3 separate regions of the Homo sapiens genome follow, and regions 2 and 3 are each linked to region 1. Evidence: promoter capture Hi-C in 16 types of primary human blood cells and fetal thymus (Javierre and others, 2016). All regions are on one chromosome and are shown on one strand. Each heading gives the region's core, a stretch centred on a gene start or on the middle of the fragment in contact. The rest is flanking DNA. Distances are from core to core; before and after follow the strand shown. Region 1 holds the start of SPRR5 (small proline rich protein 5). Region 2 holds the start of SPRR2G (small proline rich protein 2G). Region 3 overlaps LOC101928009 (a long non-coding RNA gene).

Region 1 (3,002 bases), core at 40-2,539:
AGAGAGACCCTAAGCCCAGGTGAACCCCCTGCCACATTCCTGTCCTGCTCTGCTTTTACCTTGCCCTGATCCCTTCACAGATTTAAGAGGAGTGTGTGTGTGTGTGTGCGCGCGCGCATGTGTAAACTTTAAGTGTTTACAAGTTATTTCAACTCTTTTCAAGACAAAGAAACATGGAAGGAAGGAAAGATAGGAAAGGAGGAAGGGAGGGAAAACAGAAATGTTAGGAGGGGTTGAAAAGAAAGAAAAACATAAAAAAAGAAAAGGGAGAGAGAGGAAAAAAAAGAGGAAGAATGAAAGAGCAGACTGTTGTATCCTATTATAGCAAAACCTGTGGCATCTGGAATAAATTGCCTGGGATCTGAGTTCTGGCTAAATCATTTATTAACTATATGATTTTGAGCAACTAAGGTTTTCCATACTTACCTCTCTTAGAGTTGGTGCAAAAATTAAATGAGTATATAAAATACATACTTAAAATATGCATGCATACGTAGGTATGTATGTACCGACACACACATGCAGAGTAGTAGCACAAAATGAACACTATATAAGAGTTGTAATTTGTTAAGTAAATTCATAAACAATTTAAAAGGCGCATCTTAACCACTCTCTAAAGGAGTTTATAAAGAGAAAACTCTAGAGATAGATGAAATGGACTATCTAGCTTGCCTCTCTCAATTACAGTTGAGGAAAGCAAACCTCAGAGGGAAGGAATGGCTTCAAAGCCACTCGGCATAGATGGTGGGAAAAGAGGTCTCCTGATTCCCAGAGCAGAGCCTTCCATGGTGCCACATCGTCTTGTCCCTGCAGCCCTTTGCTCCATGGACATCCACAACTCTGCTGTCCCAAGGGAGTCTGTTCTCTTTCCTTCCTGCCTTCTCTTTTCTTTGAAAGGACAGTCCTTCCAGTTGCTCTGCCCAGAACTGGTCTCTCCTCTCCTACTAATTCCCTCTTAGCACCTGACAAGATGCAACACCCACACCATGCCAGCAGCATCGCTGAGATACTGACCCTCTTGTAGATACCCCCCTCCTTCTCCCTGCTCAGCCCAGCCTCCCACACTACTCTGCTGGATAACTTGCTGGACCCAAGATAGGTTTGTCACAAATGATATGGAAAAAAGAGGTACCCCAAAAGACCCATCCTTTCTGACCACCACCCAGAGAATCAGCCCAGTCCATAGTTGGTTAGGGATGCAGGCAAGGCAAGGCTGCTATAAGAGGTACTACCTTTCCAGACTTACCAAGGTTCACCAGCGACTGGAGCAGATAGGTGTGGAGGGGTTTGGGATGCTCTGAGCCTATCTACCTTTTATATACCTCTCATCCCTGCCTGAGGCCATGAGGTGGCCCAGGATTGGGGTGTCCTAATTAGTCCCTAGTCACAATAGGATCCACCTGTCCTTCCTCAAATTTTAAGTTTTACTCACCCCCAGGGCTGGTATGGCGGGATTTGGAGATGACAGTGCCTTCACCCTCCCCTTGCCTCATCTCCCCATCATTTTACGAGGACTGGCTTCCTTGGATTTCCAAACCCACTCATGACTTTTGACTTAGATCCCTGGCATCTAGGATGGTCCCAAGCAAGCATTCCGACCATGCTGGGTGTGGGGGTGTGAGGGCAGTGTTCTGGGATGTTCTGGTTGGCAGAGAGGAGGGGATGGGACAGGCAGCTTATGCAGGTAACATAAGAAAACAGCTGAGGGGGCAGATGGCTCTCTTGGAAACCCACCACCCTCAGCAAAGTTGTGACTTTGACTTGACCTAGGCTCAGAGTCACATTCAGCTTGAACTGGTGGGAAGACAAGACAAGAGGCTTTCATTTTTTACCTATTGTTATTTATACAAGAAATGGCAGCTGCCACTCTCTGTCTGTTCTGCTATTGGGAAAATCGTTAGGCCCCATTCGGGGAAACTGGTTGGTTACAGTAGATAGTGCTTATCTCTAAATCTCCCTACATATATCACATATCCATATGACTCCAGGGTTCCCAGGGAAATGATTATCATAAGGTGGAGGGGGTGGGGGAAGCTAAGAAGCATTGCATTAGAGTGAGCTCATGGAGGAGTCACAGTGACTGGATTCTGGGTTCTGAGCTCCTGGGGCCCCAGTCCTGGCTCTTCCTCCTAACTTCTGTTAGAAGTTCCAGGACAAAGAAGGGTGGCACGGGATACAGACTTGGATGCTTCCCATACCTGGCAAAGGATGGAGCTCATCTTTAAAAAATTCCCAAGTGGTGCTCAGACTGAGGCTCTGCCTTTTACCAGTTGGGTGACCTTAGGAACCAGATGTTTTTGCACTTCAATTTTCTCACCTGCTAAAGAGGGTAACAGCACCATTCTGCATGTCAGTTGTAAGGATTAAAATGGACAACTTATTTAAAGTATGTGCAAGTGTTTGGCACAAAATGCATGGTCAACAGTCGTTGGGTGCTCCATGGAGATGGGCTTTGAATACTAGGGCAAGACACACTCTTAGAAATATGGAATAGGAAGTTGAAAAAAGTTGGAGGCAAGTAGTGGCACTTGCCACCCAGTGTCATAAGCTCTTGGTTGAAAGAGACAGGAGGAATAAGTTCAAGGAATCCACTGGAAGTCATGTTGACTATAGTTAATAACAATATGTGACATGAAAATTGCTAAATGAGTAGATTTTAAGTGTTTTCGCCACACAAAAATGATACATATGTGAGGTAATACATGTATTAAATAGCTTGATTTAGTCATCCCACAATATATTCATATATCAAAACATCACATTGTACACTGTACATATATATAATTTTTACTTTTCCCCTAAAAATACATTAAAAAAGACTTTTGAGTGAGAGAAATGGAAATAGGCAAGCTAGTCCTGAAGATGGCACATTTTAAATCTCAGCCATGAAATTTAGCCATGGTTCCACTATTTAATAAAAGCCTTAGAACATCCCAAGACCTTGGGGAGTCATGCTGCATCACTAGAAGACACAGGTGTGGAAACCGATGTTCTCTCTCTTA
Region 2 (3,023 bases), core at 438-2,937, 200 kb before region 1:
ATGTTGTTCCTCTGAGATGCTGAGAAAGAATTTAATAGTAGGGCTCAACTCAAAGACGTTCCTACCTCTTCAAATTCCCATGTTAGGTCCTCAGTTTTTTTTGTTTCTCTACTGTACCAACCCAATCAAGTTTGAAACATTGCAGATACAACACAGCATTCTTCTGGGTAAAGAGCACAAGGCAAAAATCTTCCCTGAGAGGGGCTTTCTCAGGAAAACAAGGTGCCGACCCTGTAGGTGCTATGGTACCCATGCCGTCTAATTAGTAGTGACTACAGCTAGAAGAATGGGGGATGCAGGGAAAGGATCTTCACTAGATAGGCCTCACTCTAAACAATGCCATTCTTTATTATCTGTTTTTGACATGTTTGAAATTATTGGTTAGTTATGATTAGTTATTATTCTTATTTCTTCTACATTTTAGAGTTTATATTTCTTAGAAGACCCACTATGTAATGTGCATAATTTTAGGCCACTCTTTGAGTTTTTGTAGGAGACTTTTGTGGTAGGTGTATTTTTTATTTCTGTTTTACAGCTGTGTAAACTGTGTTTCAAGGAGGTTAGGAAATATTTAGTTCCACACAGTAGTGGTGGCTGTAGATGTATGCATAACCAAGGTACTCAAGTTTTTTCCAAGTTGGGACAGTGAGTAATACTAGCTGAAGTGTTAATATGGTTAAATAAGCTATACTAAGAAATTATCCGTGGGATCTGTGCCAGCTATACTTTACTTATTTAGGTAAAAACATCCATGAAGTAAACAGCAGGATAAATAGCTTTACAGAACTTCACTCCTCGAATGTGCAAAGAAAGCCTGAAATCCTACTAAATGTCATTTCAAAAGAGAGAAATTGTGAAGGAGTAAATTGAATTAGCATGTAGGAGAAAAGCTTCAAAATGGATGCAGCACATACATTAAGGCAGTTTGGAAGAAAATGGGAGAAGATGAGTTTGGATTTCTAGTAGACCACAAGTCACTCATAGTTACAAGGGCCACAGAGATGAGGTTAGTGTGTAAATCTGCAAATGTGAAGCTTTAAGAAGGGGCCCCAACATGACTCTAATGGCCTAGAAAACTGAGAGATGATGTTGCCTTGTTCAAGCCCATTAATACCATGTCAGAACACACCCAGGTTGGGGCTGTCAGCATCTAGGAAGCTGATATATGATTTTGTCACCCTGTTCAAGTCAATTAATTGTCAAGAAAAGCCTAAGGATCAATAGGCCATGATAAAAGGGGAAGTTAGTTGTAAAGAAAAACTGCAGTTGAGGGTTAGGATATAGCCAGGCTGCAGGATCAGCACATACTGGTCTCTACTAAAGAGAACACAGCTAGATACTGGGCATGTGCAACTGAATGGGAGTAGTTTTACATACAGGATACTTTGGAAGCTGGGAAGTAGGAGAAGCACCATCTCTAATTATAGGGAAGCACCACAATTGTCAGACAATTTGTCACGTTCTACAATTGCCACTGGCATGAGGAACCTGAGATAATGTCCCAAGTGAATCACTGTGCACTTATCCTGCTGGGGAGGATCATGGACTAGGAATTTTGTGATACCAGCATGGATTACATGCAAGTGGTATTTTGGTTGGGAAATAAGCACATCATGCTAGTCCTGGGCTGTTCCCTGTGTAGGGCTGCCTGCCCCTTATAAAAGGACTCTCCACCACACTGATGCTATCTTCTTGCCATTCAGTTGTAGATCTTTGAAGACTCTGGTGAGTACAAATATTAGAAGCTTTTCTTGCACTTGGATGGTGTTAGGGTCTAACCTGGGTACAGAAATGCCTGTTTATTTTAACCAATTTATCCTCATGGATAGGAAAAAGAAGATAATGAGGTCTTGAAGGTAAATTTTAGCTGGTATTTGGTAGATAAACATGAAGGTGATGAGGAACCTGGAGTCAAATATATAAAATCTTAAACTGAAGGAGAGTGAGAGACACAAGATGCTGTTCTGTCTCCTGCTTCACATCTGTTCCAAATACATCTCTCTTGGAGTGCAATCTCCTTGGGTGATGGGTGCAAGTTTTTGCAATTCTCTTAAAAAACTCATGGCTCAGCACCACAGCCAGCTCATTAAAACTGGTAACTAGGGCCTCATGGAAGATAAGAGCACAGATTTGTTTGGTATTGGCTAGACTTTTAATATCTGAGTTTTTCTTCTTCAGATAGTGTTTGTATTCAGACAACATTTGTTGCTGTCTCATAGGCAATTTTATTTTCAGAAAATGGTAGAATGAGAGAACAGCCAGAAAGACGGAAGAACTGAGGGTAAGAGGTCCTAAAAGTGAAGTGTGAAGAAGGTTCACAAAGTCATAAAGACTGTATTAGGGATCAAAGTTGGTCCCTAGATACTGGAGATTTGATGTCCTAGCTAATTGCTCCACCAACAGGACTGTCTCTCTTATGAGCACTGTTTCGTATGTATCTTTCAGATTCTCTGAGACTGAGGAGAGATGTCTTACCAGCAGCAGCAGTGCAAGCAGCCCTGCCAGCCACCTCCTGTGTGCCCCACGCCAAAGTGCCCAGAGCCATGTCCACCCCCGAAGTGCCCTGAGCCTTACCTGCCTCCTCCTTGTCCACCTGAGCATTGCCCACCTCCACCATGCCAGGATAAATGCCCTCCTGTGCAACCATACCCACCCTGCCAGCAGAAGTATCCACCCAAGAGCAAGTAACATCACTAGAATTCATCAGGACCATGAAACAACAAGATCCAGTGGCTCTTCTTACTCCCAGGACTCCATCATCTTCCCTTCAGCTGTAGTGGGAGGCTGCATCTTCCCTAACCTCTGTCTGGCTTGAGCGTTGACAGAGAAAAGGCTTAGTTCTGAAAACCGATATGTTGTTGGAAGATGAGCAGCCAGATCACTGCCTAATCTCGCTTTGCTGTCTGTGATGTAGATGGTGGTTCCTATCCTGAGAGCAAGTGTGTTTATTCTTTTGCTTCTCCCCAATAAAGCACATGTTTCATGGTCAAGCCCACATTGCTTTTGTTTGCATTTCGTGTCTT
Region 3 (2,973 bases), core at 101-2,600, 230 kb before region 1:
AAATAAAAATATATTACACAACCAAAAACAAACAAACAAAATTCTAAACTCTGGGAGAATGTCTTCAGATCTTGTCAATAGGAAAGATTCCTTAATCAGGTAATAAAAAGCATACCAATAAGGTGGAAAAATGACAAATTGGATTTCATTAAAATTAAAAATTTCTGATTATCAAAAACACCACCAAGATTGCAAAATGCCAAGCCACAGAGATGGAGAAGCTGTATGTAATATCTATATTTAACAAAGGGCTTGTTCCCAGAACATATATACACATGTGTTCCTACTCACAGATCAACAAAAAAACAAGAAATGAGCAAATAGAAAAATATCTGAACAACCTGAACAGGCAATTCATGAAAGGGCATTTCTGTATTTCCAATAAACATATAATAAAGAGTTTAATCTCACCATTCATAAGAGAAATGCAAATTCAAGTCACAACGTGTTATCTCCACATAGCCACCGAAATGGCTAACACGAAAAAAGATAGACAATACCAAGTTTAGACAGAGTGTGGAGCAATTGAAACTTTCACACACTGCTGATGGGAATAATAGATGGTAGAAAGAATTTGGAAAAGTTAACAGTATTCACTAGAGCTGAGCATATCCCTATCCTCTGACCCAGTCATTATATTTTCCTAGGTATGTACCTAACAGAAGTGTGTACATATAGTCACAAAAGGACAAATACGTAAATATTCACATTAGCACTATTTTTAAAAATTCCAAATTGGAAACTACTAAAATACCTTTTAGCAATAAAATGGATGCATAAATGGTAGTATATTCTCATAGAGAAATACCATACAGCAATGAGAATCAACGATCTATATCTACAAACCAGAAAATGAATCAGTATCACAAACACAATTTTGGGGAAAAAAAATCCAGGCACCAAAGAGTTCATACTGTATGATTCCCTTTATATACAGTTCAGAACATGAAGAACAAATGTACAGTGTTAGATGCCAGGAAAAAGTTAATGTTTGGGGGCTGGTAGTGACTCGGACTGCTTTTGAGAACCTGCTTCCCAGGTGGACTGCTTCTGAGATGCTGGTAACATGTTATTTCTTCATTTGTGCATTGGTTGCATGGTTGTTTAGCTTATGAAGCTTTATTAAGTTGTATACCTGTACTTGGTGAGCTTTTATTAATTTATACTTCAATTTTAGTCAGTTAAAAGGTTACTTTAAAGGGAAGGAAGCCACCAGAATGCCAATATTCCTGCAACTTAGTGAACAAGGAAAGAAAGATATGATGAAGTCAGCATAAGAGTCAGTGCCACAGCATGAAGTGCTTTGTAGGACAGTAAGGTCTTCAGACTTTTCTCTAGATACAATGGCAAGATATTTGATCATTTCAATTAGGGAGGACATAATCTTCTCTATATTTTATATGATTGCTGTGGTTGTTCTGATATGGGATTGCTGTGGCACAAGATAGGAATACGGAGACAAGATAGAAATCAGGACACAAGATAGGAAACTTCTGCAGTGGTTCAGGTGAGGGTGATGGTGGCTCTAATTAGGGTAAGAACATTGAAGATAATGAGAAGATGAGAAGTGATAATAAGCTTAAGGCAGAACTTGGGATCTAGGAAGAAGTAGTATGTGGGAGGTGAGGAAAAGAGGAATAAGAGATGAATCCTAGGTCTTAAAAATTATTATTATGACTACTATCATTATTTCAAACATTATTATCCTTATTTAGTTTGTGGCATGAGTACCTTCACACACACGATGATATTGTATATTTAAAAATGAAACCATTTCACAAATGATAGGCGTGACATTGTTATATTTAAAATGAGTGGATATTATAAACAACTTCATATTGAATTCTACAACTTAGATGAAAAGCACAAATTCCTTGAAAATAAAAAACTAACACATAAATGAAAACTTGACAGCCCTGTGATGGTCTTTTGACGTGTCAGCTTGGCTGCATGACAGTCCCTAGTTACTCAATCAAATACTAATCTAGGTGTTGCTGTGAAGGTAGATGTGATTAAAGTCCATTATGAATTGACTCTAAGTAAGGGAGAAAATCCTAGTTTATACAGGCTGGTCTGATTCAATCAGTTGAAAGGCTTTAAAAGCCAAGCTAAATCTTCCCTGAAGAAATTATATGTGTGGATTACAGCTTCAGCCTATGACAGAGTTCCAGCTTACCCTCTTGATGTCCTGACTTCTGGATTTTAGACTTGCCTAGCTGCCTTTGCAATCACATAAATTGAGTCCTTGTAGTAAATCTCTGAAGTACATTTCCAACTGGTTCTGTTCCTCTCATTGTACCCTGACTGAGACAATCTCTAAAATTATTACAGAAATAAAACCCATAGTTTAAAACCTTCCCATATAGAATGCCCCAGGTCCAAAAGGATTAACTGGTGAATTATACCACACACTTAAGAAATAAAAATTTCAATCATACATAATTTCTTTCATAAAACAGAGAAAGAGGGAATATTCACCAAGTCTTTTTCAGGTTAACGTAGCCCTGATATTGAAACTTGACAAGGACATTAAATGAAAAGAAAGTTACAGATCGTTATTCCTCAGGAGCATAGAAGCAAAAATCCTTAAGAAAATATCAGTAAATTGAGTCTAGCAATATATTAAGAGGATTTGTCACAGAATGCAAGGTTTATTTAATATTATAAATGTAATTCACCAAATTAACTGAATAAAGGAAGAAATTATATCATCTGAATAGATGTAGAGAAAGCATTTGACAAAATTCAACATGCATTGAGGATAAAACTCTTGCAAACTAGGAATAGAAAGAAATTTTCTCTATGCGATGAAGGTCATCTATGAAAAGCCTTGGCTAACATTATATTAATTGTGAAATATTTTTCCCCTAATATCAGAAACAAGGCAAGTATATCCCAATTTACTACTTCTATTCTAACATTTCCTGGAAGTTCCAGCCAGTGCAATAAGGTAAGAAAAATAAGTACAAGCAT

What was found. The method cuts DNA at HindIII sites, captures the fragments that hold promoters and counts their contacts. A CHiCAGO score of 5 or more calls a contact.
Region 2: a contact is called between the fragment with the promoter of SPRR2G here and the fragment with the promoter of SPRR5 in region 1, in 8 of 17 cell types (endothelial precursors, M1 macrophages, naive CD4 T cells and 5 more). The highest score is 7.1, in endothelial precursors.
Region 3: a contact is called between a fragment that was not itself captured here and the fragment with the promoter of SPRR5 in region 1, in 2 of 17 cell types (M1 macrophages and M2 macrophages). The highest score is 7.0, in M1 macrophages.

What each region holds. Positions count from the first base shown.
Region 1 is chr1:152,945,493-152,948,494 of GRCh38, reverse strand. SPRR5 (small proline rich protein 5) reads right to left here and starts at 1,289. Exons shown (of 2, transcript NM_001395435.1): 1 at 1,247-1,289. All of the region lies in intron 1 of LINC01527 (long intergenic non-protein coding RNA 1527), which reads left to right. The HindIII fragment of the contact is 11,414 bases long and covers 1-3,002 here.
Region 2 is chr1:153,149,554-153,152,576 of GRCh38, reverse strand. SPRR2G (small proline rich protein 2G) reads left to right here and starts at 1,687. Exons shown (of 2, transcript NM_001014291.4): 1 at 1,687-1,725; 2 at 2,446-2,995. The coding sequence starts at 2,467. The coding sequence ends at 2,688. The HindIII fragment of the contact is 711 bases long and covers 1,037-1,747 here.
Region 3 is chr1:153,178,304-153,181,276 of GRCh38, reverse strand. The region is part of intron 2 of LOC101928009 (a long non-coding RNA gene); the gene reads right to left. It also overlaps a transcript of SPRR2G not described here. Among named protein-coding and RNA genes, the nearest start is that of LELP1, 24 kb to the left of the region's middle. The HindIII fragment of the contact is 461 bases long and covers 1,120-1,580 here.